Regions from separate parts of the Homo sapiens genome. Here regions 2, 3, 4 and 5 are each linked to region 1. Evidence: promoter capture Hi-C in 16 types of primary human blood cells and fetal thymus (Javierre and others, 2016). All regions are on one chromosome and are shown on one strand. The core of a region is centred on a gene start or on the middle of the fragment in contact, and the rest is flanking DNA. Distances in the headings are between cores, read along the strand shown.

Region 1 (5,174 bases), core at 2,188-4,687:
GCTGAGCTTTCAATAGTTTAAATTACAGGGTCCCTCACAGTAACAGAAGGAGGGCAGGGACTCTGTTGTGCTCATTACTGTATCCTGAGCATGTAGAAAGAGGCTGAGTGTTTCCTTTGGTACCTCTCCCGCTAAATGAGGAGCTTTGCAAGAACCAAGTAATGTCTGTGTCTTCTCTAGACACTGCTTTCCTGGACATTACCCTGTTGATGTCTCAAAGAGACACTGGGCTGGGGCATGCGCATGTGTGGGTATGTGATGTTGCTAAGAGATACAGTTCTTTAAATGTGTGATAAGAATCACTGGGGGAATTTTACTTACATGTTTGAAACAACAAAAGAAAAACATATTCTCTGGGAACAAGCTTAACAATCAAGAGTGATCCATTATAAACAAGATCAGAATGACAATCGCCTGCATTAAACGTGACATTTTTGGTATTTGTACATCCATTTTGCTCAGCCTGTTATACTTTAAAAGCTACTTGTCACTTTGTAATTTAGGGAAAAAAAATCTACTAAAATAGTTCATTAACTGGAACACTGTTAAAAACACAGATTTGAGAAATGAAATGCAAAGAAACATAAAATATCTCTCAACCACTATTTCAGTGTCATTTAAGAGAGTGCATTTGGAATTCTTTGATCTGAGTAGAGCTTTCTACCCAACTACTCTCTCAGAGGGGAGCTGGGGTCTCGGGGAACAAAGAGGGGTCACCTGCTTTATATCTCCATGTTTGAGCCTGGTGACCCTCTCAGGTGGCTCCAAGAAAGTAGAAGCTGAAGTCACTTTTGAAGGGCAGAAAGGAGAGATCCAACCCTAACCTGACGACATCCTCTCACCTGGCCTCCTGGGTCCATTGAACTAGCGTGCAACACTCTAGAGCTTTCATGCCCACAGCTGGGCTTGTGATGGCCCCTCTACCTGAGATGACACCACTTCTCTATCCACTGAAATCTTGTTTTTTTTGTTTGTTTTAGTTAAGGCAAAATTCACATAACATAAAATTCACCATTTTAAAGTGCGTACAGCCCGGTGGCATTTAGTACATTTACATTGTTGTGCAACCACCACTTCTATCTAGTTCCAAAACATTTTCATCATCCCCAGGAAAAAACACATTACCCATTAAGCAGATGGGCTCCATTCCTCTTTCCCGCAGTCCCTGGCAACCACCAATCTGTGTTCCATCTCCATGGGTTGACCTATCCTAAGCATTCCATACAAATGGAATCATACGCACAATATGTGATCTTGCGGGTCTTGTTTACTTCACTTAGCATAATATTTTTAGAGGTTCATCATATTGTAGCATGGATTAGTACATTTCCTTCCTTTTATGGCTGAATACTATTCCATTGTATGTATATAACACACTTGTTTATGCATTCATCCATTTAGGGACATTTGGGTTGTTTCCACCTTTTGACTATTGTAAATAATAATTCCATTAAAATGTGTATATAAACATTGATTTGAGTACCTGTTTTCAATTCTTTGGTTACATCCCTAGGAGTGGAACTGCTAGATCACAGAATAAGTCTACACTGAACTTTTTAAGGAACTCCCAAATTGTTTTCCACAGCAGCTGTCCCATTTTACATTCCCACCAGCAATGTACAATGGTTCCAATTTCTCTACATTCTCGCCAACATTTGTTATTCGGTTTGTTTGGACATTTTTTGGAGTAGCCGTTCTAGTGGGGATGAAGTGTGCCTACTTCATACCACTTCACTGTTATCTGGTGAAATCTTAACTCATCCTTCTGTGCCCAGTTTTCATGTCACCGTGATTTGAAAACTTCCCTGAGTTTACAAGCTCACCGCTGAGGAGTGAACTGCCTGAGCTCTGTGCCCTGAAGCCCCCCCGGGGGCGGGGGGAGCCAGCTATGTCAGTGTCTCCCTGGGAGGCTGTGCCCTTCTCTAGGGCAGGGCTGCACTGTATTCATTTTCGCATCTCTACTGCTCAGCACAATGCCTGACGCATAATGAGTGCCCCCAAAATATCTTCAAGTCCTAGTCCTTGAGCTGAGGTTTCTGCAGTATCAGTTCACCAATGGAGAGGGACATGATGGCTTCTTTGTGCTCAACTGGGACCCAAAGCAGAGATGAATCGTCCTAGCAGGGCTCTAAGCCTGAAAGACCCAACTTTATAGTTTTACCCCTGCCTGTATTCTGCTCCAGAAGCTGCTGACATACCTTTAAAGAGGATGATAAACCTAAGCTCCCAGGCATGGAGACTGAATGGCTTCAGGTGTAAGACGGCATTGGGCAACACAGATAAATAGACAATAAATCAGATGGGGCCCGTGGCCTTTGGCCAGGACACAGTAACTTCTGTGACTTTATTCTGGGTGGCCTTGTCCAGGCCAGCAGAGCTTCCGGCAGCAGCTTCGACTGTTTCCATGCAGAGACACCTGGGAACTGCATCTGCGCTTTGATTTCCGCGAAGGAAACTGTCATTTTCTCCCATATTCATTCTTCCTAACCCCATCTCCCCGAGACAAACGGCAGAATGTTTTGAAGGCCCCAGAGTACACTGATAGTTGGCTAGACGAGAAAAATTCAACGAGCGCCTATTTATGTATTTGTTGCGCTCCCAGGCTCGGGAAATAACCTTGGGAATATTTGGGAGAGTAACCCAAACATTTCTCAACTAGTGGGATATCCTGGAGGGGATGTTACTGGAAAACAAATACACTGGGTTGCAATTTCTTTCTTTCCAACTGGGCCACCTTCTCCAAGTCACCTGCCGCGCTAACGCTTCAGTATTCCCATCTGTAATCAGGAAACTGATTCCTGATCTTACATAAAAACCACCGCGGTAGGAGCCCCTTGAGAATGTTCTTAAGAAGCCAGGAGCGCAATAGCAGGCACAGCAGGGACCACCCAGCGCAACCCCCGATTTAAGTTTCTATCACGACTCGCAACTCGCGGCTTCCCTCCGGCGAGGGAATGGGAGCGGGGGCGGAGGGGTCGCAGGTGCAGCCCGGAGAAACTGGGTGAGTCGATGGTAAGGACCCGGCTCCCGCTCCCCCGCGGGACACCACACCCGCGCCCCCCGGGCAGTGGTGGCGCAGGGCCCCTACCTTGCCGTACTTCTTCAGCTTCCTCCGGTACCTCTTCCTGGGCTGCTCGCTCGGCGCCGGCTCCTCCAGTGGCTCGTAGCGCTCGGGCAGGAGGGCGAAGTGCACCCTCCGCGCGCCCCGGGTCCCCGGGCCCCGCTCGTCCGCCGCGCTCGTCCCGCTCTCGGCCGCCGCCTCCGCCTCGTCCGCGTACTCCAGGTGCTCCAGGATGGCGGCCGCCTCCTCGTCCCCCTCGGTTCGCCCTCGCCCTCGGGGCCCGCGGCGCAGGAGGCTGCTCTCCGCCTTGCTTCGGAGCCTGGCTCCCACCGTCATGATGTCCCGGCCCCTCTGGCGAAGGTCCGAGCGCAAAGACACCAACCTTTGGTCCCCGCCCGCTCCTCCGCCCCAGCCCGGACGGGGCGGGGGATTGGGGGGGCCGCAGCGCCCCCTGGCCGTGGGGCCCGGGATAGCGTTGGCTCCGCTCCGAACTGGCCTACCAGGCGGCGGGCGCGCTCCGCCAGCCCCGCCCTTCATCCCACCTGCCGGCCAAACTGTGCAGACTACGGCGCGCACTGCACAATGAACATGCAAAACACCTTCAACTGCACTTGCTACGAAATTAATGACCCCAAATAATAGGACTCCATCTGCTCATGTTCAAATTAGCAACGATGGAAAATGATACTAGAGATCACGCTCAGTGCTAGGGAGGGCATGGCGAGATAGTCACGGTAACAGGATTCGTGGGAGTGCAAATTGGTGGCAAGGTTTTGGAGAGACGATCAGAAAATCTTTATCGTGAGTCTTAGGAAACGTCCGTATTCTAGGAAATATTCGGAAACGCAAGACAGTGTGTCCACGGTGTTCAACGGTCTGACTCAGTGAAAAAGTGGAGCAAACCAACAGGGAGGCGCAAAGGAAATTCTGGTGCAGACATGCCAGCATATGGCGCAGTCTTTAAAATCATGATTTTCAGGAATATCTCTCTGTGAGATAAGCATTATCAGTGTACTGTGAATCTCAACAAGCTGAGAGTGCCCTATTTTCTTAAGTGGGTAAATGCCTTTGAATTCTGGCTAATGTAGAATTAAGGGCCGAAAGCAGTGGCTCACGCCTGTAATCCCAGCACTTTGAGAGGCCGGGAGGATAGCTTCAGCCCAGGAGTTGGGGAACAGCCTGGGCAACATAGTGAGACCTCCATCTCTAGAAAAAAAAAAAAAAATTAGCCAGGCGTAGGGGCGCACACCTGTGATCCCAGCTATTCAGGAGGATCGCTTGGGCCTGGGAGTTTGAGACTAGCCTGGGCAACACAGGGAGACCTCATCTCTAGAAATAGAAAAACAAATACAAAAGTTTACCTGTAGTCCCAGTGAGGTAGGGAGATCGCTTGATCCTGGAAGGTGGAGATTGCAGTGAGCTATGATTGTGCCACTGCGCTCCAAAGGGGTCGACAGAGTGAGATCCCATCTCAAAAAAATACTTAGGTATAAAATAACATAGATTGTTAGATACACTGATATTTTAACATTAAAGTTTGTGATTAAATTTAAGAATAACGTGTATATGTTGGTATAAGCACATACAATGTTTACGACAATTTAGTTCACTAGGATGCAAAAGAAATTAGTTTTGTGATTCCAACTTAAAATGTGAGCCAGCATGGTGACTTTCACCTGTAATCCCAGCAACTCCACAGGCTGTGGTGGGAGGATCCCTTGAGGCTAGGAGTTCTGAGCAACGTAGGCCCCATTTCTAAAAAAGTGAAAATGTGTGGCTCGGTGCGGTGACTCACACCTGTAATCCCAACACTTTGGGAGACCAAGGCGGTGGATCACCTGAGGTCAGGAGTTCGAGACCAGCCTGGCCAATATAGTGAAACCCTGTCTCTACTAAAAATACAAAAATTAGCCAGGCATGGTGGCGTGCTCCTGTAGTCTCAGCTATTCGGCAGGCTGAGGAGGAGAATCGCTTAAACCCAAGAGGCAGAGGTTGCAGTGAGCGGAGATCGTGCCACGGCACTCCAGCCTGGGCAACAGAGTGAGACTCTGTCTCAAAAAAAAAAAAAAAAGTAATCAGCTAATTGATTTACGCTTTTATTTAACTTATGTAA
Region 2 (5,332 bases), core at 642-3,141, 420 kb after region 1:
CAGTAGTAGTAATAAGGAGCTAGACCATGAGAGGCCTTGTGAAAATTGTGGCGTTTCTCTGAAAGTTTAAGTAGAGAAATGACATTGTCAGATTTGTACTTAATGTAATCAACAACATTTGTTGAAGACCTGTAATGTGCTCTGGTAGCAAAGTGGAGGAGAGATTGGAAGAAGGGAAATGGATTGGGAAGCTCTTCCAGTAATCCAAGCAAGAAATTATGTGAGCTTGAATTAAGAACCTTAGTAGGATGAAGATGAAGGACTAGATTAGAAAGACGTTAAGGAGTTAGAATCTGCAGGACCTTGTGAAGGTCTGGTGATGGGCATTGTAACTAGTAAGTGAGGGGGAGTTTAGGAAGTCTTTGGCTTGTGGTTTGGGCAACTATATGTAATAAGAGAATGAAGGATACAGATTTTCAACCTTTTGCATTTTAAATGTTTATGGTATGTCCAAGTAAGGACATCTGGTTGAACACCAGATATAGATAGTCTAAACAGTAGGGAGTACTGGGCCAGAGATGTTAATTGGGGAGCTAACAGCAAAAAGTGTCAGTTCAGTCTCAAGGATTATGTATGTTGTGAAATGCACTGAGTACTAAAGCTGTAAGCTTAGAGGAGCACTGGTGTTTAAAAGTCAAGTAGAGGTTACTGGGAAGAAGACTGAGAAGGAGTAAAAGAAAGAGGAAAATCATGTGAGAGTAAGGCCCTCGGAGCTGAGGAAGGCGAGAACTTGATGAGGGTGAGGAATGGTCAGCAGTTTTGCAAATGCAGCAGGGGTCAGGTAAGAAAAGGATAGAAAAATGCTTATTGGTTTTGAGAAGGTGGAGGTAACTTGGACCTTAGGACAGTTTCAGTAGGATAGTGGAGGCAGAAAGCATAGTTATAGGATAAGGGGTTAAAAAGTGAAATATACTATTTCAAGGAGCTTGGCTGTGAAGGATAGCAGATGCAGGATTGTAGATAGGGAATGTAGAAAAAAGGAACAGATTTTCTTTATCCTTCTACCACTCTCCTGGTCCAGGCCACCATCTTTTCTCAACCTGGGCTATGATATGATATGTGTCTTCTTCTAGCAATTCTTCCTGCTTTTGCTCTTGGTTTCCTGTAATAATTCTCAACAGTAGTTACAGTGAGCTTTTAAGGCATAATTTAGATCACAACATTGCCTTTTTTTTTGAGATGAAGTCTCACTCTGTTGCCCAAGCTGGAGTGCAGTGGCATGATCTCAGCTTACTACAACCTCCACCTCCTGGGTTCAAGTAATTCTTCTGCCTCAGCCTCCTGAGTAGCTGGGACTACAGGCATGCGCCACCATGCCCGGCTAATGTTTGTATTTTTAGTAGAGATGGGGTTTCACTATGTTGGCCAGGCTGGTCTTGAACTCCTGACCTTGCGATCCACCTGCCTTGGCCTCCCAAAGTGCTGGGATTACAGTCATGAGCCACCACACCCAGCCTAACATTGCCCTTTTAATAACACTCAATGGTTTTTGATTGCACTTAACGTAAAATCCAAAGTTCTTAAATGGTGTATAAGGCCCTTGAGACTCTGCTTCCTGCCATTTCTTGGACCTTATACACCTCTCCCCTTATTTCTTATGCTTCAGACGCTCTTTTTTGTTGTTAAACCAGCCAACCACATTTGTGGCTAAGGTTTTTGCCCTCACTGTTGTCTATGCCTTGGATGCTTTTTGCAGATCTTTGCATGCTAGTTGCATCTTGTCATTCAAGTCTCAGCTCAAATGTCAACTCAGGGCAGCCTTTTCTGACCACCTGATCTAGATCTAAAGTAGTCAATACAACCCCCTTGTTCCTACTTGTTGTTCTCAATCATATCATCCTGTTTATTTTCATCATTATATTTCTACTGTCCAGTATGGTAACCTCTAGGCACATGTGGTTATTGAGCCTGTGAAATGTGGCCAGTGCAACTGAGGAACTGAATTTTTAAAATTCAAGTTAATTTTAATTAATTTAAATTTAAGTAGCCAAAGTGGCTAATGCCTATAATATAGTATGGCACAGTTATAGGTGCTAAAACTCAGGTACATACAGATTGAATACTTGTCCAAGTTACATAGGCAGTTGGGGATATAAATACACCCCAAACATCTAGATTAATTTGCACTATACCTATAGATTTATAAATATGGTTTAATGTATTTCTCTTCTAAATCAAATTCTTGAGTTTATGTATGTTGATATTATTGTGGCTATGATCAGTTCATGTAGAAAATGAACAGAATGGACCTCTTCACCAGTGAGCCCCTTTGTAAAACCTGTACAGATGATCTCAGACTTATGATGGTTTGGCTTCCAATTTTTTAGCTTTACAGTAATGTGAAAGCAATGTGTACTTTGTAGAAACCATACTTCAAATTTTGCACTTTGATCTTTTCCAGAGCTAGTGATACAATGGGTAAGATACTCTTTTGTGATGGTGGGTAGCAGCAGCAAATATGAGAGACTGTACTCTACGGTATTCAAGAAGTACTGTATTCAAGAAATTACATGAGATATTTTCAACCCTTCATGATAAAATAGACTTTGTGTTAGAAGATTTTGCCCAACTATAGGCTAATGTAAGTGTTCTGAGCACTTTTAAGATAGTCTAGGCCAAGCCGTAATATAAAGAGTTTTGAACGTAAACTTTTGTACAGTGAAATTTTACAGAGAAAAAATGACATTAGCAGAGCAGGTAAATAGGACCTGACTTAAACTGCTGATGGTATTTGCCTTTGCTTTTCTTCACTTTATTTATTAATGTTATAAATGTTTATTGGGAAGCAGAAATCATGAGATCATCTTAAATTTTTTTAGCTGATATAGTTGTAATTTCTTAACCTAGCTCATCTCTAGAGGATATGTAAAAACATAAAACACCTCAATTACTTGTGAATTATAGAGGTGTATCAGTTGGTTTAAAAGTGCTTTTATTGGGCTGAGCTCTTGGAAGACTCAGGTCCTTGGGTCATAGGCATCACGGACCAATCTGAAGAAAACTGCATTTCAGGGCCTGTTGAGGCTAAAACTCCAGTTGGAGGTCCAGAACATGTTCTCGTGACTCAGCAATTTCCTTGTCAGAATCCATTACCTGCAAATAGTGGCCAGGCTCAGTGGGTCTTGTGTCCTTCAAATTCTTCGCAGCGTGTTCCTTTGCAAGCACAAAAGCTTGTCTCCAGTCACAAGCCAGTTCAGAATCAGAAGCAGAAGCAATTGCAGGCAACCAGTGTACCTCATCCTGCCTCCAGGCCACTGAATAACACCCAAAACAGCAAGCAGTCCCCGCTGTCGGCACCTGAAAATAATCCTGAGGAGGAACTGGCATCAAAACAGAAAAATGAAGAATCAAAAAGAGGCAATGGGCTTTGGAAGACCTTGAAATTGGTCGCCCTCCGGGTAAAGGAAAGTTTGGTAATGTTTATTTGGCAAGAGAAAAACAAAGCAAGTTTATTCTGGCTCTTAGGGTGTTATTTAAAGCTCAGCTGGAGAAAGCAGGAGTGGAGCATCAACTCAGAAGAGAAGTAGAAATACAGTCCCACCTCCAACATCCTAATATAATCAGACTGTATGGTTATTTCCATGATGCCACCAGAGTCTACCTAATTCTGGAATATACACCACTTGAAACAGTCAATACAGAACTTCAGAAACTTTCAAAGTTTGATGAGCAGAGAACTGCTACTTATATCACAGAATTGGCAAGTGCCCTGTCTTACTGTCATTCAAAAACAGTTATTCATAGAGACATTAAGCCAGAGAACTTACTTCTTGGATCAGCTGGAGAGCTTGAAATTGCAAATTTTGGGTGGTCAGAACATGCTCCATCTTCCAGGAGGACCACTCTCTGTGGCACCCTGGACTACCTGCCCCCCGAAATGATTGAAGGTCGGATGCATGATGAGAAGGTGGATCTCTGGAGCCTTGGAGTTCTTTGCTGTGAATTTTTAGTTGGGAAGCCTCCTTTTGAGGCAAATACATACCAAGAGACCTACAAAAGAATATCACGGGTTGAGAATTCACATTCCCTGACTTTGTAACAGAGGGAGCCAGGGACCTCATTTCAAGACTGTTGAAGCATGTTCCCAGCCAGAGGCCAATGCTCAGAGAAGTACTTGAATACCCCTGGATCACAGCAAATTCATCAAAACCATCAAATTGCCAAAACAAAGAATCAACTAGCAAGTATTCTTAGGAATCGTGCAGGGGGAGAAATCCTTGAGCCAGGGCTGCTGTATAACCTCTCAGGAACATGCTACCAAAATTTATTTTACCATTGACTGCTGCCCTCAATCTAGAACACTAAAAGAAATATTTGTTTTACTGAGCAGGTGTGCCTTAACCTCCCTACTCAGAAAGCTCCACATCAATAAACATGACACTCTGAAGTGAAAGTAGCCACGAGAATTGTGCTACTTATACTGGTTCATAATCTGGAGGCAAGGTTCGACTGCAGCCACCCCATCAGTCTGTGCCAGGCATGGTGTCCTCCCAGGAGGCAAATCCAGAGTCTGGCTATGGGGAAAGTGACCACTTTGTGCTGACTCGATCGGTTAAGGAGCTGTCCAATAACCTTCCAAGTACCTGAGTGAGTGTGTAACTTATTGGGTTGGCCAAGCCTGGTAAAGCTGTTGGACTGAGTACGTGATTCTTTTTAAGTAGGAAAATAAAGATATTTGTACAGAAAAAAAAGTACTTTTATTTTACTGTGGACAGCTGCTAGAGATATAGTGATACCACTCTCTTCTATATTTGAATTATCAAAGTATGACTTTATGTTACTTTGTATATTTAATTACAAAAGAAGACTGTCCTCTGTAGCTTTAAAAGATGCTGAACCCTACCCTTTCCCAATGTTTACATTAATGACAACTGTTAAATTTTGTTTTTATAAAGTAAATACTATCTACTTAAGACATGAAGTCTGGTCTTACTGCTTTGTGGCTTTTTTGTTTGTTTTGTTTTTGTTTTTTAGAGACAGGGCCTCACTCTGTCACCCAGGCCAGAGTGCAGTGGCATGATCATAGCTCACTGCAGCCTTAAACTCCTGGATTCAAGGGATCCTCCCACCTCAGTCTCCTGTGTTGCTAGGACTACAAGTATGCAGCACCATGCCCAGATAATTTTTTTGGTTTTTGTTGAGATAGGGTCTTGCTGTGTTGCCCAAGCAGGTCTTGAACTCCTGGGCTTAAGTGATCCTCCCACCTGGACTCTCAAAGTGCTAGAATTATAGGCATGAGCCACTCTCCCTGGTTTATTACTTTGAAGTTGCAGGGATGGGTGGAGTATAGGTCCCCACTTTATGGGTCCCCATTTAACCTATAGTGACATAA
Region 3 (5,019 bases), core at 712-3,211, 460 kb after region 1:
GTAATTTGATATATACATTATTTTTATAGCAATTTAAAAATTGAATCATGAACTTTATAGTAATAAGCTCTTTTAGATTCTTTGCTTTCTAATGTAAGAGATAATACATATTCTGAAACTTTAAATGGGATAGCCTTGTTGCCTGCCTTAAACTCACAATAAGACAATTGTTTCTGGTGCAATGGAAAAATTAGCAAAATAAAGAGATTGCTTAATTGAATTAAATCGCCAAAAAACAAGCTAATTTTCCAAGTTAAAAATATCTCTAAATTGCAATATCAAGGGAATGTTTCTATTTTTAAATAAGAACCTTCTTACTTTTGGCCTTAACTGTAAACTCCACTTTTCCCTAATCTTACCCTTCATGAGGCATAGTAGGAGTACATGTAGTCTAATACTTAGGAGCATGGGTTTTGGAACTCAGACCTGAACTCACACTGTACTCTGCCACTTACTCCTGTGTGATTTTGGTCGAACTACTTAAACTCTCCAAGAAATCTGTTTTCTCATTGTAAAATAGGGACAATAAAGGATCCTGTGATGTTTAAATGAACTAATAATGTCTATAAAGCATTTAGGCATACAGAAATGTTTAATACATGTTAGTCGTCATATACATTGCATCTTTCTGCCTCTTTCATTCATGTTGACTTTTTCCCCTAGCCTTTCTAGCTACTTTTTAAGGACTGAGTTTAAGTTAACTATTCATTGTATTTTTTTCCCCATCTCTTACTTTCTCATCCAAGTTCCCATTAGTAGTCCATTACTGCACTCACCATATATTATGGTTCCATGTTTGTCTGCCTTCTACAGTAGATCATGAATTCTTCAAGGGCAAGGAGTATGTTTGTACTTTTCTCAGCTCCTACTACAGGATTTGCCACATGGTGTTTAATAGAGTATTTGTTAAATTGCTAATTGACTTGTATATGGAACTCTTCTATAAATTGTGCAATGTTAATCAAATGATAGTGCTATTTTAGGACTTAATATATACCTATTAGGAAGTAATTATTTGGCATTTAAGTACAGAAGATTAGACTGTTACTACAAAGCTAATTGAACAATGACTCCAAGTACTAGACTATAACAAATTCTTTAATCATCTGTATGTAATTGATTTCAGCAACCTTTAAAACCTCGTATATAAGTGAATCTATTTGCTTCCTGCTGTAAGCCATCAGGATCAGTCCCATCTTTTAAATTGTTTTCCCCCCAGAATTTTAAAGCTGATTGCTTAAATATAATATTTTATTTAGCTAAACCTTGACCAGCATTGAGAACTTGGTATGTGTCAGGCACTGAGGACTTTAGTATGCTATCTGGTGTAAGTCCTTACAACAACCCTACCAGATAGAGGTAGTCATGTTTTCCATGCCTTTATGATTAAAAACTAAAGTTTAGATGGGTAATTTGCACTAGGTCACAGAGACAGTAAGTGCTAGATCAGGATTTGAACAAGCATTCAATACTTTATATGTATTACCTCAAGGCCGGGCGTGGTGATCCACGCCTGTAATCCCAACACTTTGGGAGGCCAAGGTGGGTGGATCACTTGAGGTCAGGAGTTCAAGACCAGCCTGGCCAATATGGTGAAACCCTGTCTCTAATAAAAATACAAAAATCAGCCGGGCGTGGTGGCAGGTGCCTGTAGTCCCAGCTACTCCAGAGACTGAGGCAGGAGAATGGCTTGAACGCGGGAGGCAGAGGTTGCAGTGAGCCAAGATTGCGCTATTGTACTCTAGCCTGGACAGCAGAGTGAGACTCCATCTCAAAAAAAAAACACATACACTTTATATGTATTGCCTCAAATTAAATTTTTAAAGATGATAAAGTTCAAATAAAACTTAGGCAGCGTGATTCTGGGGCCTAAAGTTTTATTTGTACTTTATTAATGCATACAAAGTATCTCATGCTTGTCTCAGAGTAGTTGTTCAAAAATGATAGCTTTTTCTCTTCTGATAAATTAAAAGATGACTATGTAAAAACCAGTCACCTGGACCTTGTAAGGGAACATACTGTCCAAACCTATCTGGGCTTTTACATTCCTTGTTGCATTGTTGTTGACCGTCTTATTTTCCTCTGAGAGGACGATCCAACATATAAGAAATCACAGAATATCAGAAAAGGGTGCAGAATAGTAGGTTTGTCTTGTTTCAAAATTCAGTTTTATTTTCCATTGATGATTAGTCTTATCAAAAAGCAAGTTACTTTTTTAAGACATCTGTGAAATTTTAGGTGTTTTTTTTATCACCGTGTATATTTGTCCAGTATCTTGAGTAATAAACATTTGTCATTTTTAGATTTTTAAAACGTCACCTTTGCAGCTTGATTTGAATGTGAATTAACTTGATGTCCAATATCTTAAGATCCAGATAACTCACACACAATTTCACTAATAACTTGCACACAATTTTGCTAATATATAAATTTAGAAATTCAGTAGGTCAAATATTTTCTGATTGTTATTACATATAGCAAAATCCTGGTATAACACAGTTTACCCTTATTTTCTTTCTTAATATCAGCATTATACAGGGGTTGGTTCTATGATGTTTAGAAAAAATGCTTTAAAGATATTTAAAGCCCTATATTTCATGCAAGCATTGTTCATCTTTTTAAAAACAGGTAAATCAACAGACTGGGAAGATGATGGTTGGGGAGCATGGGAAGAAAATGAACCACAAGAACCTGTAAGTCTTTACAAATATATGCATGTTTTTTGATAGTGGCATTTTCCTTTTGTAATGATGGTGACATATTTCCCTGTCAAGCTGACATTTTAAATTCGATGTCAAGAATATTTTTGTGCTTACTTATTAGTACTTAACTAGATACCTCTTCTTAAGGAACTTAATGACATTGTAGCTAAAGCGGGTGTCTTCGTTCACTTGGTGTTGCTATAACAGAATACCTGAGACTGGGTAGTTCATAATGAACAGAAATTGATTGGCTCACAGTTCTGGATGTTGGGAAGTCCAGGATCAGGGGCCAGCATCTGGCAAGAGCCTTCTTGCTGCATCATAATACGGTGAAGGTGATAGGACCAGAGGCTGGTGGAGAGGGTGGGAGGGAAGAAAACATGGGCCAATACTCCTCTTTTTATAACAAATTCACTCCCACAATAAGGAACCTACTCCCTCATTAACGTCCTTAATCTATTCACTCTGCTCTCATGACCTAATTACCTCTCATTAGGCCCCATTTCCCAACACTGTTGCATTGGGGATTAAACTTTCAACACATGTTTTTTGGGGGCACATTCAAACCATAGCAGTGGGCTAAATGGAGAATAATTGTTTTAGGATTCTTTATCTTTCATAAATTATTCTTTTATATTCTTTCACTATTCACTCAAATATTTGCTGTACCTACCATATTCTACGCATTTTTCTAGATGCTGGGAGTATAGCAAGGAACAAGGCAGACAAAGTTCCTATATATGTTAGTATATTTTCACATATGAGTAATAAAAAAATCTAACTTTAATTGGCTTAAATATGAAGAAAATTTATTCGCTTACATAGAAGGAAGTCCAAAGATAGAATGGAATCCTGGGTTGGTTGATCAGGCAATTCAAATATGTCAAGTTATTTCATTCTGTCTACTTTGTATATGCAGTGTTGGCTTCATCCTAATGCCTGTTTCATTCACAGATGTAGTGTGGACAACATGTTTCTTCATTAATGGGTAGAGGGAGAAAAAGACTTGGGCTTTTCATGACTCTTTCAGGAGTTAGGGAGCTACTTTCTTAGACGTCTCTAGCAAACTTTTCCTTATGTCTTCTTGGCCAGGATTGGGCCACATGCTCATTTCTGAACTAATCACTGGCAAGGGATATGAGATATTCATTGTTGAATCATATTATTCCCTGGAGTTAGAGGATAAGAGGGTCAGCTTCTCCTGAGGCCCATGGCCACACGGAAGGAGTTGATACCTGAACAAAATCAGGATTTTTTTTTTAAGAAAGAAGAATGAATATTAGATAGGTCTTCTTACAGTCCTATTTCTGGGAGCTTACACTCTATGAGAGGGAGACATAAAAAAGAAAGATGGATGAAAAATAATTCAAATGGTAATGTGATAGCAAGTGACTGCTATAGATTGGGTGGTTAAGGAAGTTTTTTCAGAGGCTGTGACAGTTAAACTGAGATCTAAAAGGCAACAGGGAGTCAACAACATGAGAATCTGACAGGATTCTAGGCCAGGGCAGCAGCTCATGCAAAGTCTCAAGGCAGGAATGGGCTTGAGAGTTTGAAGGGACATAAAGAAGGCCAGTGTGATGTAGCAGGACTGAGACTGTTCCAAGATGGGGCAGAGAAGAAAGCAGGCCAGATGTCAAGCTTTGTGAATTTGGTGTTTATTCTAAATGCAATGGAAAACCACACTTACCTGATTTCTGACTTTGACAGCTCACCTTGGCTGCTCTATGGAATAGGTTGAAGTAGGGAGCAAAAGTAGAAGCAGGAAGACCAATTACAAGGCTGTTGCAGTAGCTTAGTTGAGAGATGATTGTGGCTTTGATTAAGGTGGTATTAGTGAAGATGAGAAATGGATGAATTCTGGATAATTTTCAGAGGTAATGATAAGACTTTCCAGTGAGCTGGTTATGAAGGATGAGAGGAAGGTGATAAATCAATAATAAATTCTTTGATCTGGGGTGTGGTGTGAAATAGATAAAACACGATTGTTGAAAGGTTGATATTCTCAAAAGGTGAGTAATAGATGCCATTCTCTTTACTTTTGTTAATATTTTTAAATATCCATAATAAGAAGTTTTTAAAAAACCCTGCCAGATATTTGGCTTGAATAACTGGAGGGATGTTGTGTCATACCCAGTTGGGGAGGATGAGGAAAAGAACAGCTTTGGCAGAGAAATCAGAGAGCATCATGTGCTAAGAAGTAGAGATATGCTCATGTAATAGAGATGTATGGAAAAACTCCATGAGGAGATTAAGAACAGGAAACCATTTCAGAAGACCTCTAGGAGAATTAGGATGTGTTGAATAGGATAAAATG
Region 4 (5,076 bases), core at 2,526-5,025, 380 kb after region 1:
AGGAATCACCACACTGTCTTCCACAATGGTTGAACTAGTTTACAGTCCCACCAACAGTGTAAAAGCGTTCCTATTTCTCCACATCCTCTCCAGCATCTGTTGTCTCCTAAGTTTTTAATGATCGCCATTCTAACTGGCATGAGATGGTATCTCATTGTGGTTTTGATTTGCATTTTTCTAATGACCAGTGATGATGAGCTTTTTTTCATAAGTTTGTTGGCCTCATAAATGTCTTTCTTTTAAGAACTGTCTGTTCATATCCTTCACCCGCTTTTTGATGGGGCTGTTTGTTTTTTTCTTGTAAATTTGATTAAGTTCCTTGTAGATTCTGGATATTAGCCCTTTGTCAGATGGATAGATTGCAAAAATTTTCTCCCATTCTGTAGGTTGCTTGTTCACTCTGATGATAGTTTCTTTTGCTTTGTGGAAGCTCTTTAGTTTAATTAGATCCCATTTATCAATTTTGGCTTTTGTTGCCATTGCTTTTGGTGTTTTAGTTGTAAAATCTTTGCCCATGCCTATGTCCTGAATGGTATTGCCTAGGTTTTCTTCTAGGGATTTTATGGTTTGGGGTTTTACATTTAAGACTTTAATCCATCTTGAGTTAATTTTTGCATAAGGTGCAAGGAAGGGGGTCTAGTTTCTGTTTGCATACGGCTAGCCAGTTTTCCCAGCACCATTTATTAAATAGAGAATACTTTCCTCATTTCTTGTTTTTGTCAGGTTTGTCAAAGATCAGATGGTTGTAGATGTGTGACATTATTTCTGAGGCCTCTGTTCTGTTCCATTGGTCTATATATGTGTTTTGGTACAAGTACCATGATGTTTTGGTTACTGTAGCCTTGTAGTATAGTTTGAGGTCAGATAGCGTGATGCCTCCAGCTCTGTTCTTTTTGTTTAGGATTGTCTTGGCTACATGCGCTCTTTTTTGGTTCCATATGAAATCTAAAATAGTTTTTTCTAATTCTGTGAAGAAAGTCAATAGTAACTTGATGGGGATAGCATTGAATCTATAAATTACCTTGGGCGGTGTGGCCATTTTCACGATATTGATTCTTCCTATCCATAAGCAAGGAATGTTTTACATTTGTTTGTGTCCTCTTTTATTTCTTTGAGCAGTGGTTTGCAGTTCTCCTTGAAGAAAGAAGAGGTCTTTCACATCCCTTGTAAGTTGTATTCCTAGGTATTTTATTCTCTTTGTAGCAATTGTGAATGGGAGTTCACTCATAATTTGGCTCTCTGTTAGTCTATTATTGGTGTATAGGAATGCTTATGATTTTTGCACATTGATTTTGTACCCTGAGACTTTGCTGAAGTTGCTTATCAGCTTAAGGAGATTTTGGGCTGAGACGATGGGGTTTTCTAAATATACAATCATGTCATCTGCTAACAGAGATAATTTGACTTCCTCTCTTCCGATTTGAATACCCTTTGCACTCAGAGAAACATATGAAATTAAAGGATTTATTATACTCACAGGCCCTAGAATGGGACATGGACCACACCATGGAAGGGGCCTCATGGTAAGAGTACCAAAGAAGTGGGCTCAACCAAGCAGGAGTGGAGCCAAGAGAAAAGACCCCTGGGCAAGTGGATTTACTAGGAGTCCAGGTGAAGTACACAAGCAAAAAACATGAGGGGGTTTCATCGGTGCATTTGAATGTCTCTAGGTCACAGTCAAGTTATGGTAAAAAGGTGAACTTGTAGTAGGGACCAGCTTCATCAAACTGGTGCACTTGGTTTCTTATGCAAAATGCTCACAGCCTGTTTGTGGACATGTTGAGATACCAGAAATATATGAAGCTTTAAAAATTTACAATACACCCTTCCTCTGAAAGGAAGTTCAAAGATGGTGGCAATAATAAGCTTGGGCTGTTTGTGTATTAAGCAATCCAGTCATTTCAGCAGGGGAAAAAAACAGTGATAATGATTGGCTGAATTTTAGTGTGAACCCCATCTCTACTAAAAATACAAGGCTATTTAATGCTATGTCTGGGTACGGTTCCATAAAAAAATGGTCTCATTCCCCACCGTGCTTTGGGAAATACTGCTTCTGTTAGTTATAATATCATCCATATTGCAGAATTCTTGATCCTTGTCCTACAAAATCTTTGGTATGTGGTTTTTGTTCTCCTGGTCTCAAGATGGTTTCTCTATGTCCTTCAGATACCACATCCTCATTCCAAGCAGGAGGAAGGAGTGAGGACAACAGAGCGAGTGTGCCAGCCAGTCTTTGATTTTTTCAATGAAAAATAATAGTTTTCCTAGTATTTTCACCCAATAGAATGCAGCTTGCATCTCACCGGACAGAATTATGTTTCTTGCTGATTCATAAGTGCAAAAGGAGCCTGGAAATCATCATCATGAAACATTTTTTCTCTGCAAGTTCATCGGATACTCTATCAAATCCATTTTCATCCCTAGAGACATCTCTCCTAGTATGCTCTGTCATCCTACTCCAATCTGAGCTGGATACACTGTAGGCTTGATGCTTAGTCAGAAACTTGGGACACTTATATTTCCACCATCTTACAAATTCTCCTCCTTATTCGGGTGTTATATCCTCTGTTTCTTTGCTGCTTAGTTTTTGGTTTACTCCCTTGTTTGGTGGTGCCCATCCTTCAGTAGCTTTTTGAAAGGGGAAGTAAATTTTTGAGACATTGCATGTCTGAAAATGTCTTCTATCTAGTATCAGACTCGACTGATAGCTTGGCTGAGTAGAATTTTAGATTGAAAATAATGTTTCTGGCCAGGTGCAGTGGCTCATGCCTGTAATCCCAGCACTTTGGGAGGCTGAGGTGGGCGGATCCCCTGAGGTCAGGAGTTTGAGACCAGCCTGGCCAACATGGCAAAACCCTGTCTCTACTAAAAATACAAAAATTAGCCAGGCGCAGTGGTGGGTGCCTGTAATCCCAGCTACTTGGGAGGCTGAGGCAAGAGAATCACTTGAACCCAGGAGGCAGAGGTTACAGTGAGCCGAGATCGCGCTACTGCACCCCAGCTTGGGCAACAGAGCGAGACTCCGTCTCAAAAAAAAAAAAAGAAAAAGAAAGAAAAGAAAAGAAAAGAATTTTTCTTTGGCTTTTGAAGGCATTGCTTTCCTACGATTCCAGTGATTGAGAAGTCTGGTCCCATTGTTATTCCAGAAGTTATGTATATATTCTATTTTTCTCTCTGAAGATTTACAGTGTGTTCTATCACTGGTGTTGTAAAAGTTGGCTTGATTCCTTATTTATTAGGCACTTGTGGGCCTTTGTAATCTGGAGATTTATGTCCTTCAAATCTAGGAAAAGTTCTCTTATTACTTCTTTGATCATATACTTTCATTTCCTCTGTTCTCTTTATCTAGAATGACAATTAAATATTGCACCTGTTGGATGCTCCTTTTAGTTTATTGTTTTTGTTTTCTCTAATTAACCGTCTCTCTTCTTATTTATTCTACTTTCTCATGATTAGTGTTTGCATGATATATCTTTTCTATCATTTCACTTTTAACCTACATGTTTCTTTTGATTTCATGTACATCTCTTGCAAACAAATACAATGTGATCTTGCTTTTTATCCAATCTGACAATCTTTGCCTCTTGATGGGTTTAGTTCATTTACATTTATTGTAATTATTGATATGGTTGGATTTAAGTCTTGCTGTTTGTTTCTTATTCATCCTATGTGTTCTTTGATCTTTTTACACCTCCTTTCCTGATATCTTTTGAATTAGTTAATACTTTAATACAATATTAAAGCATACAGCATTTTAATACACTATATTAATACAATATATTTAATAAAATATTTAATTGTATCTATTGCCTTTTTAGTTATACTTCTTGTTTGTTTTTTGTTCTACCTTGAATTAACATTTTACAGTTCACATGTAATGTAAAAAGCTAACAACACAAGGCTGTCACTTAACCCTACTTCCGTGTTCCTTGTGTTGATTTTGTCAAAAATTTTAGTTCTACATATGTTATAAAACTCACAATACATTATTATTATATTCACTTTGAACAGTCTATTGTCTTTTAGAATATCAAGGAACAAGAAAAAGTATTATTATTATTATTATTATTATTATTATTATTATTTTGAGACAGAATCTCTCTCTGTTGCCCAGGCTGGAGTGCAGTGGTGCAATCTCAGCTCACTGCAACCTCTGCCTCCTGGGTTCAAACAATTTTCCCCCTCAATGTTAGAGTAGCTGGGACTACAGGTGTGTACCACCATGCCTGGCTAATTTTATATTTTTGTTAATAGAGATAGGGTTTCACCATGTTGGCTGGTCTCAAACTCCTGACCTCAAATGTTCCGCCCACCTCGGCCTCCCAAAGTGCTGGGATTACAGGCATGAGCCACAGCTCCTGGCCTCAAGGAACAAGAAAAAAGTATTTTTTAATAATTACTCACATATTTACTATTTACAGTGTTCTTCATTTAGGTTTGAGTTTATGTCATTTTCCTTCATCCTGAAGAACTTACTGTAACATTTCTTGTAGTACAAGTTTGGTGGTATCATATTCTGTCAGCTTTTTTTTTTTTTTAAATATCTTCTTTTTCTTATTTCTTTTCTTTTTCTTTTTCTTTGTTTTTTTTTTTTTTTTTTTTTTTTTTTTTTTTTTTGAGACAGGTCTTTCTTTGTTACCCAGGCTGGTCTAGAACTACTGGGCTGAAGCAATCCTCCTGCCTCAGCCTCCCAAAGTGCTGGGATTACAGGTCTGAGCCACCACTCTCAGCCTTAAAATATCTTTATTACCTTCATTTCTAAAGCATATTTTCTTTCTAGGCTAATAGTTTATTTTTTCTCTCAGTACTTTTCTCCCATCAGTACAATTGATGTCATTCAGTTGTCTTCTGTCTTGCATTAGTTCTGATGAGAAGTTCAGCAGCCATATTTATTATTGTTGTCCTGTATTTAATACATCTTTTCTTCCTCTCCAATTGCTTTCAAGATTATCTTTGATTTAGCAATTTTATTATGATGGGCATGGTATGGTTTTCTTTGTGTTTATCCTGATTGAGGTAAGTTGAGCCTGTTGGATCTCTAGGTTGACATTTTCCATCAAATTTCAATTTTTTTTA
Region 5 (5,274 bases), core at 2,591-5,090, 500 kb after region 1:
TCATGCCTGTAACTGTAATCCTAGCACTTTGGGAGGCCGAGGCAGGGGGATCATGAGGTCAGTAGTTCGAGACCAGCCTGGCCAACATGGTGAAACCCCGTCTCTACTAAAAATACAAAAAAATTAGTTGGGTCAGTATTGGCGGGCGCCTGTAATCCCAGCTACTCAGGAGCTGAGGCAGGAGAATCATTTGAACCTGGGAGGCGGAGGTTGCAGTGAGCTGAGATTGCACCATTGTACTCCAGCCTGGGTTGCCATACATCTGAGTGTGTTTTATATACACATACCTACACATCCCTACATTATATATATTATATATATAAAATAGTAAATATGTGTGTATGACCACCTACCTTAGGAAATAAAATCTTACCAGGAACTCTAAAGAGCCCTGAGTGTCCCCCCTCAGTCCCATTCCCTTCTCCCATCCCTAAGGTAACTGTAATTTAGAATTTTGTGGTTCTTTCTTTTTCTTTACTTTATAGTTACGTCATTCCTGTGTGGCTCCTTTGAAACCTGTTGATGCATTTCCTGCCTTTTCAAACTTTATATAAATGCAGTCATGCCCTATGTCTTCTGTGACTTTAGTTTTTCCTTCAGGATTATGTTTCTGTGTCATTCATATTGGTGTATGTAGTTATAGTTATAATTGATTCATTTACTATGCCATACAAATTCTGCTCACTGACTAGAATTTATTTACACTCCTGTCAGTGAACGGTTAGGTTGTTTCCAGATTTTTGACATTACAAATGATGCTATGCTTATCCATGTACATATTTCCTCATTCACATATGCAAGAGTCTCTCTGGCGTTTATACCTAAGAGTGGAATTGCTAGGGTGTGAGCTTCTTCAACTGTACTAGTTGATGGCAAATTGTTTCCCAAAATAGTTGTACTAATTTATATTCCCACCTGTTCTGTATGAGTCCCTGTTACTCCACAGCCTCAATATTCCATGGTATTGCCAGACCTTTACTTTTTGCCAGGCTCGTGGTTATAATATGGTCACCACTGGTGATTTCTTTTACTCCCACTCCTCCTATCCAAACCCCTCATAATGCTATTCAAGTCCTAACTCCACAAATTCTTACATAATGCTTCGATCCCCATGGATAACTCTGAACTCCTACTCTACTTTCAATCAAAACTGGATAGTTAATGACTACTTATTTTCTAATTATTTCATGTATGTTAATCATAGCTTCCCCGACTTTTTTTTCTTTAGGTCTTTTAAGCTCCTTCAAGTAGGAACCTTACCAAATACTTGATTTTTATAATTCACAGCATCTAAAATAATGCTACTGTGAAAATGTAAGAAAAAACTGTATCACAGGTTTTTTCTTTTCTCTTACACAGTCACTCGACACTTCTGCCACTAGATGTAGGGTTTTTTTTTTTTTTCCCACACACCAGTCAATTTCTTTGGCAGATTCTCCAGCTAACACCAGCTGGTTATTCTCTAATTCAGTTCGATTCTGACACCATCTACCTGGAGATAGCATGAGATCATCACGACAGGTTAAGAGCTCAGTCCCACAAGACTTCTACCTACTTCAGGTACCAGTCACAAGTAGTTGGTTGTCAGCTATATTTCTGACTGTCTAGCTATAAATTAGGGTTACTATGACCCCCTCTTTGCGGTTGATGAATTTGCTAGACCAGCTCACAGAACTCAGGGAAACGTTTTACTTGAACGTTTACCCATTTATTATAAAGGATATTACAGAGGGTAGAGATCAACAGCCAAGTGGAAGAGGTGCATAGAGTAAATCATATGGGAAGGGTTGCAGAGCTTCCATTCCCTCTCCTGGCAAGCCACTATTCAGGAACCTCTACACGTTCAGCTATCCAGAAGCTCTTCCAACCCTTGTCCTTTTGGGTGTTGATGGAAGCTTCATTATATAAGCATGATTGATTACATCATTGGCCATTGGTGATCAACTCAGTCTTCCAGCTCCTCTTGGCTCCCCAGAGGTCAGGGGTTGGGCTAAAAGTTTCAATCCTCAAATACATGGTTGGTTCCACTGGTAACCACCCCCTTATTCTGAAGCTCTCCAGGAGCCTGCCATGAGTGGCCTCATTAGAAAAAAAGAAGCTTCTATCACCCAGGAAATTACAGAGGTCTTAGAAGCTCCCCATCAGAAATGGGGGGTCAAAGACCAAATGTTAGAACAAAAGGTTCTCCTAGCACCTCTGTCTACAAAGGGATTAAGAGCTCTGACTGATGAACTAGGACAGAGACCAAACACTAGAACAAAAGAAACTCCTAGCACCCCCATTGTTCAAGAAATTATAGGAACTCTGTGTCAGGTACTGGGGCCATAGACCAATATGTATATTTCTTATTATTTTATAGCTACATACATGGGAGAATTCAGTGAATAGTGATACATGGGAGAATTTAGTGAATAGTGATTTCTGTTGCAGTCCGTTTTTAAAACACTTTATTGAGTTATTGTAGAACAGAAAAGCCTTTGTGACTTTTAATTGTGTCTTCCATTCTACTGACAATGCTAATTGGCTCTCATTTTGCTCAGGGTAAAGTCTCTGTTATTAGAGATGACATGATGATGACAAAGTGGGCATCTAGAGAGGCATATTGAGAAATCTGTAGTAGAAAGGGTCATAACCCACACGGTTCTTCTCATTTTTATGCCATCTTTCTTCTTATCCTAAATCATAGAACAACAAAATTGGGAAACCAGCATAATGCAAAATGTCTTCTTGATTTTCTTTTTTTTAATGGTACTTCTGAATCATGTATGAAGCTGTGAATTTTATAAAGAATGCTAGAAAACCCAGTAACAAAAGTTATAGGTCTTCTAGGACTGACTAAAGGGAAGGAAGAAACCAGTTCAGGCTTTGGGAGACTGTTGAATAATGGGGAAGAAAACAAGCTAGCTGCTAGCCTGGGTAATCATAGGCAGAACTGGAGCAGGTTATGCTTGTCCTGGGTTCTGGCCTCTTACAGTCACTTTCTTTATTGTTTCCTGGTAGTTACTTCATTATAGGCCTGACCAACATCTTGAGCCACCCTCTAAGCCCATTTCTCCTCCACAAACACGCAGAGGTTATTGTGTTATGATCGGATATTTGTCTTATCCCACATTCTCAGCCTACTTTTTGAACTATTTAATCTCATTAATTAAAACCCAACTTAATGTGCTAATATGAAAGGATAAATATGACCTTTAACTTCTGATAGTTGCTACTTTAGGCATGAAGAGATATTTTGGGACTGGTTATGAAGAATCTTAAATATCTATGGGGGTGGGGAGAGGGAGGTAGGGAAGGGTGGGTACTGTATTCATCTAGCAGGGCCTATAGATTCTGCCTGCCATGCACAAATGCAATAATTAAGGTATAACTAAGTTTTTGGCAGCTTTTGTTATTGACATGACAATAACCTCTGCTTTTCGTTTATGCCTATATAGTATAGGCATATTCAAACTCTTCTTATTGGTAAATAGCTTTATCTTTGTTTCTGTTTTGATTTGGCTATTCTGTTAAGTAGCAGTTGCCTTCTAGTTGTTTTATTCTCAGCCTGGATTTTTGTCATTTATGTCATATTTGGCATGACATGAAGTTGATTGTATATTACTTAACAACGCAACTTGAGATTTAATATATGTACACTAAAACATCTTAAATATAGAGCTTCCCTTTGAAATTTGGGGTAGTGAAAGTTTGGGCATAAATATAAGATTTAAAAAACAAAATCACTGCCTTATAATTACTAGAACTGTTCAATATCTTTCTCCTAGGCTTTGGAAAGCATTTTGGCAAGTGAACGTTTACCATTTTCTTGCCTTAGAAACATCACTCAGACTTTAATGGACACTTTAAAAAGTCAAGGTAATAGGGTTTGTACTGATTGGAGGTTATGTTCTTAACTCAAATTTTGTAACTCTGATTATAGAAAGCTATTGACTTTGTGATACCATCATGTTACTTTAATGTGGAAGTAATATAGATATAAGAAATTAAGAATCTTATTTATTCCCTATTTAATATATGTAGTTGATCTTCATCTAAGCTGTCTTTGAATGTATTGACTGTTATTGGGAAGTTGTTTTTAATTGTGAGGAAAGATGTCAGGATAGAATGATAAGTGGTTATTCTGATATAGCTTTGTATTAATGTTCTATCAGTGTATCAGTTTCCCTCGTGAACAGAGTTAAGGACTTCCAGAATCACAATCAACAATCAGATTATTATTTCTGAATTTTCTGGTCATTTTTTGATATTCAAAATTTGTCTGTACTATCACATTGTTCTTTAAAATCCATCAGTCCGTCAAAATGTATTTGTCTGAAAAAGGATTACACTTGAAACTTGAAACTGTGGGGTTGTAACACCATATTCCATCCAACTGAACTAGTAAAAATTCACTTTATTCTGAATTCCTAACATCAGTTAAATTGTGTGCAGTGGACTGATGTCATCTAGTTGTGACTTTTGTTTGTCATATTAATTATGTAAAACCAGCTTTGTGTTTTAGTTGTGTGTAAGACAGCTTAAAGTGGCTTAATACACAAATTATAATTTGTTCTTTCAGGACTTCAAACATGCTAATTTTGAGACTCTTTTTCAACCTTTTTTTTTTAACAGATACATAAAACTGACATTGGCAAATAGTGAACTCCTTTAGCATACACCACTTGTCAGAAATAAATCCCTCTTTTAAAAAGCGTGGTATACTTACAAAGCCCTCCCACCCCTCAAGGCATTCACAACATCCCAAAATTTATTAAATGAAAAGTTATCTTCCACTGGCCTGGTAGTAAACCAAACACCATTGTTGGAATTCCATAAAATCATCAGTTTCAAGTTCTACATAAACATAAGATTCCTAAAAACTTTAATCATTTTGTGTGGTCAGTTTTATTATGGCTATAAGAACTTGAACAATATTCCATGATACTGTATTTCAAATAAGATTTTGAGGGGATTATCAGTGTCTCCCTTTTTAAAGAATAAATATTTCTTTTATATTAGATATAAATATTCATACAGTATATGAATTATGTAGTCAGGGAAAATATTTTCAAAGGTATTTCCAGATAATTTCTTTAAATTTTAAGTATTAGATGAAGATATTTCCGCTTCCTTTTTTATCTCCCTACTTTTAGAGCATCTTATTTTATTTAAAAAGTTAGACATTTTGTCATGACAGAAAAATTATTTTTGCTTTCAAAACCTGGTATAGCTTAAGCATCTCAGTATTTAATACATCAGAGCATCAGGGAATTACATAATATTGAGAGATTT

Evidence for each region. The method cuts DNA at HindIII sites, captures the fragments that hold promoters and counts their contacts. A CHiCAGO score of 5 or more calls a contact.
Region 2: a fragment that was not itself captured here is called in contact with the fragment with the promoter of C1orf115 in region 1 in 1 of 17 cell types (naive CD4 T cells); the score reaches 5.5 in naive CD4 T cells.
Region 3: a fragment that was not itself captured here is called in contact with the fragment with the promoter of C1orf115 in region 1 in 1 of 17 cell types (naive CD4 T cells); the score reaches 5.1 in naive CD4 T cells.
Region 4: a fragment that was not itself captured here is called in contact with the fragment with the promoter of C1orf115 in region 1 in 1 of 17 cell types (endothelial precursors); the score reaches 5.4 in endothelial precursors.
Region 5: a fragment that was not itself captured here is called in contact with the fragment with the promoter of C1orf115 in region 1 in 1 of 17 cell types (megakaryocytes); the score reaches 5.8 in megakaryocytes.

Annotation. Positions count from the first base shown.
Region 1 is chr1:220,688,626-220,693,799 of GRCh38, reverse strand. It overlaps C1orf115 (chromosome 1 open reading frame 115), which reads right to left and starts at 3,437. Exons shown (of 2, transcript NM_024709.5): 1 at 3,089-3,437. The coding sequence starts at 3,397. RefSeq lists a silencer at 3,367-3,606. The HindIII fragment of the contact is 6,585 bases long and covers 367-5,174 here.
Region 2 is chr1:220,265,566-220,270,897 of GRCh38, reverse strand. The region is part of intron 1 of RAB3GAP2 (RAB3 GTPase activating non-catalytic protein subunit 2); the gene reads left to right. It also overlaps the pseudogene AURKAP1. Among named protein-coding and RNA genes, the nearest start is that of RAB3GAP2, 4.2 kb to the left of the region's middle. RefSeq lists enhancers at 1-351, 2,433-3,632. The HindIII fragment of the contact is 2,562 bases long and covers 611-3,172 here.
Region 3 is chr1:220,230,473-220,235,491 of GRCh38, reverse strand. It overlaps RAB3GAP2 (RAB3 GTPase activating non-catalytic protein subunit 2), which reads left to right. Exons shown (of 35, transcript NM_012414.4): 2 at 2,629-2,693. Among named protein-coding and RNA genes, the nearest start is that of SNORA36B, 32 kb to the right of the region's middle. The HindIII fragment of the contact is 4,769 bases long and covers 1-4,345 here.
Region 4 is chr1:220,305,042-220,310,117 of GRCh38, reverse strand. No RefSeq gene overlaps it. Among named protein-coding and RNA genes, the nearest start is that of RAB3GAP2, 35 kb to the right of the region's middle. The HindIII fragment of the contact is 3,814 bases long and covers 1,869-5,076 here.
Region 5 is chr1:220,184,235-220,189,508 of GRCh38, reverse strand. RAB3GAP2 (RAB3 GTPase activating non-catalytic protein subunit 2) reads left to right here. Exons shown (of 35, transcript NM_012414.4): 18 at 3,768-3,858. Among named protein-coding and RNA genes, the nearest start is that of MIR664A, 14 kb to the left of the region's middle. The HindIII fragment of the contact is 3,479 bases long and covers 2,101-5,274 here.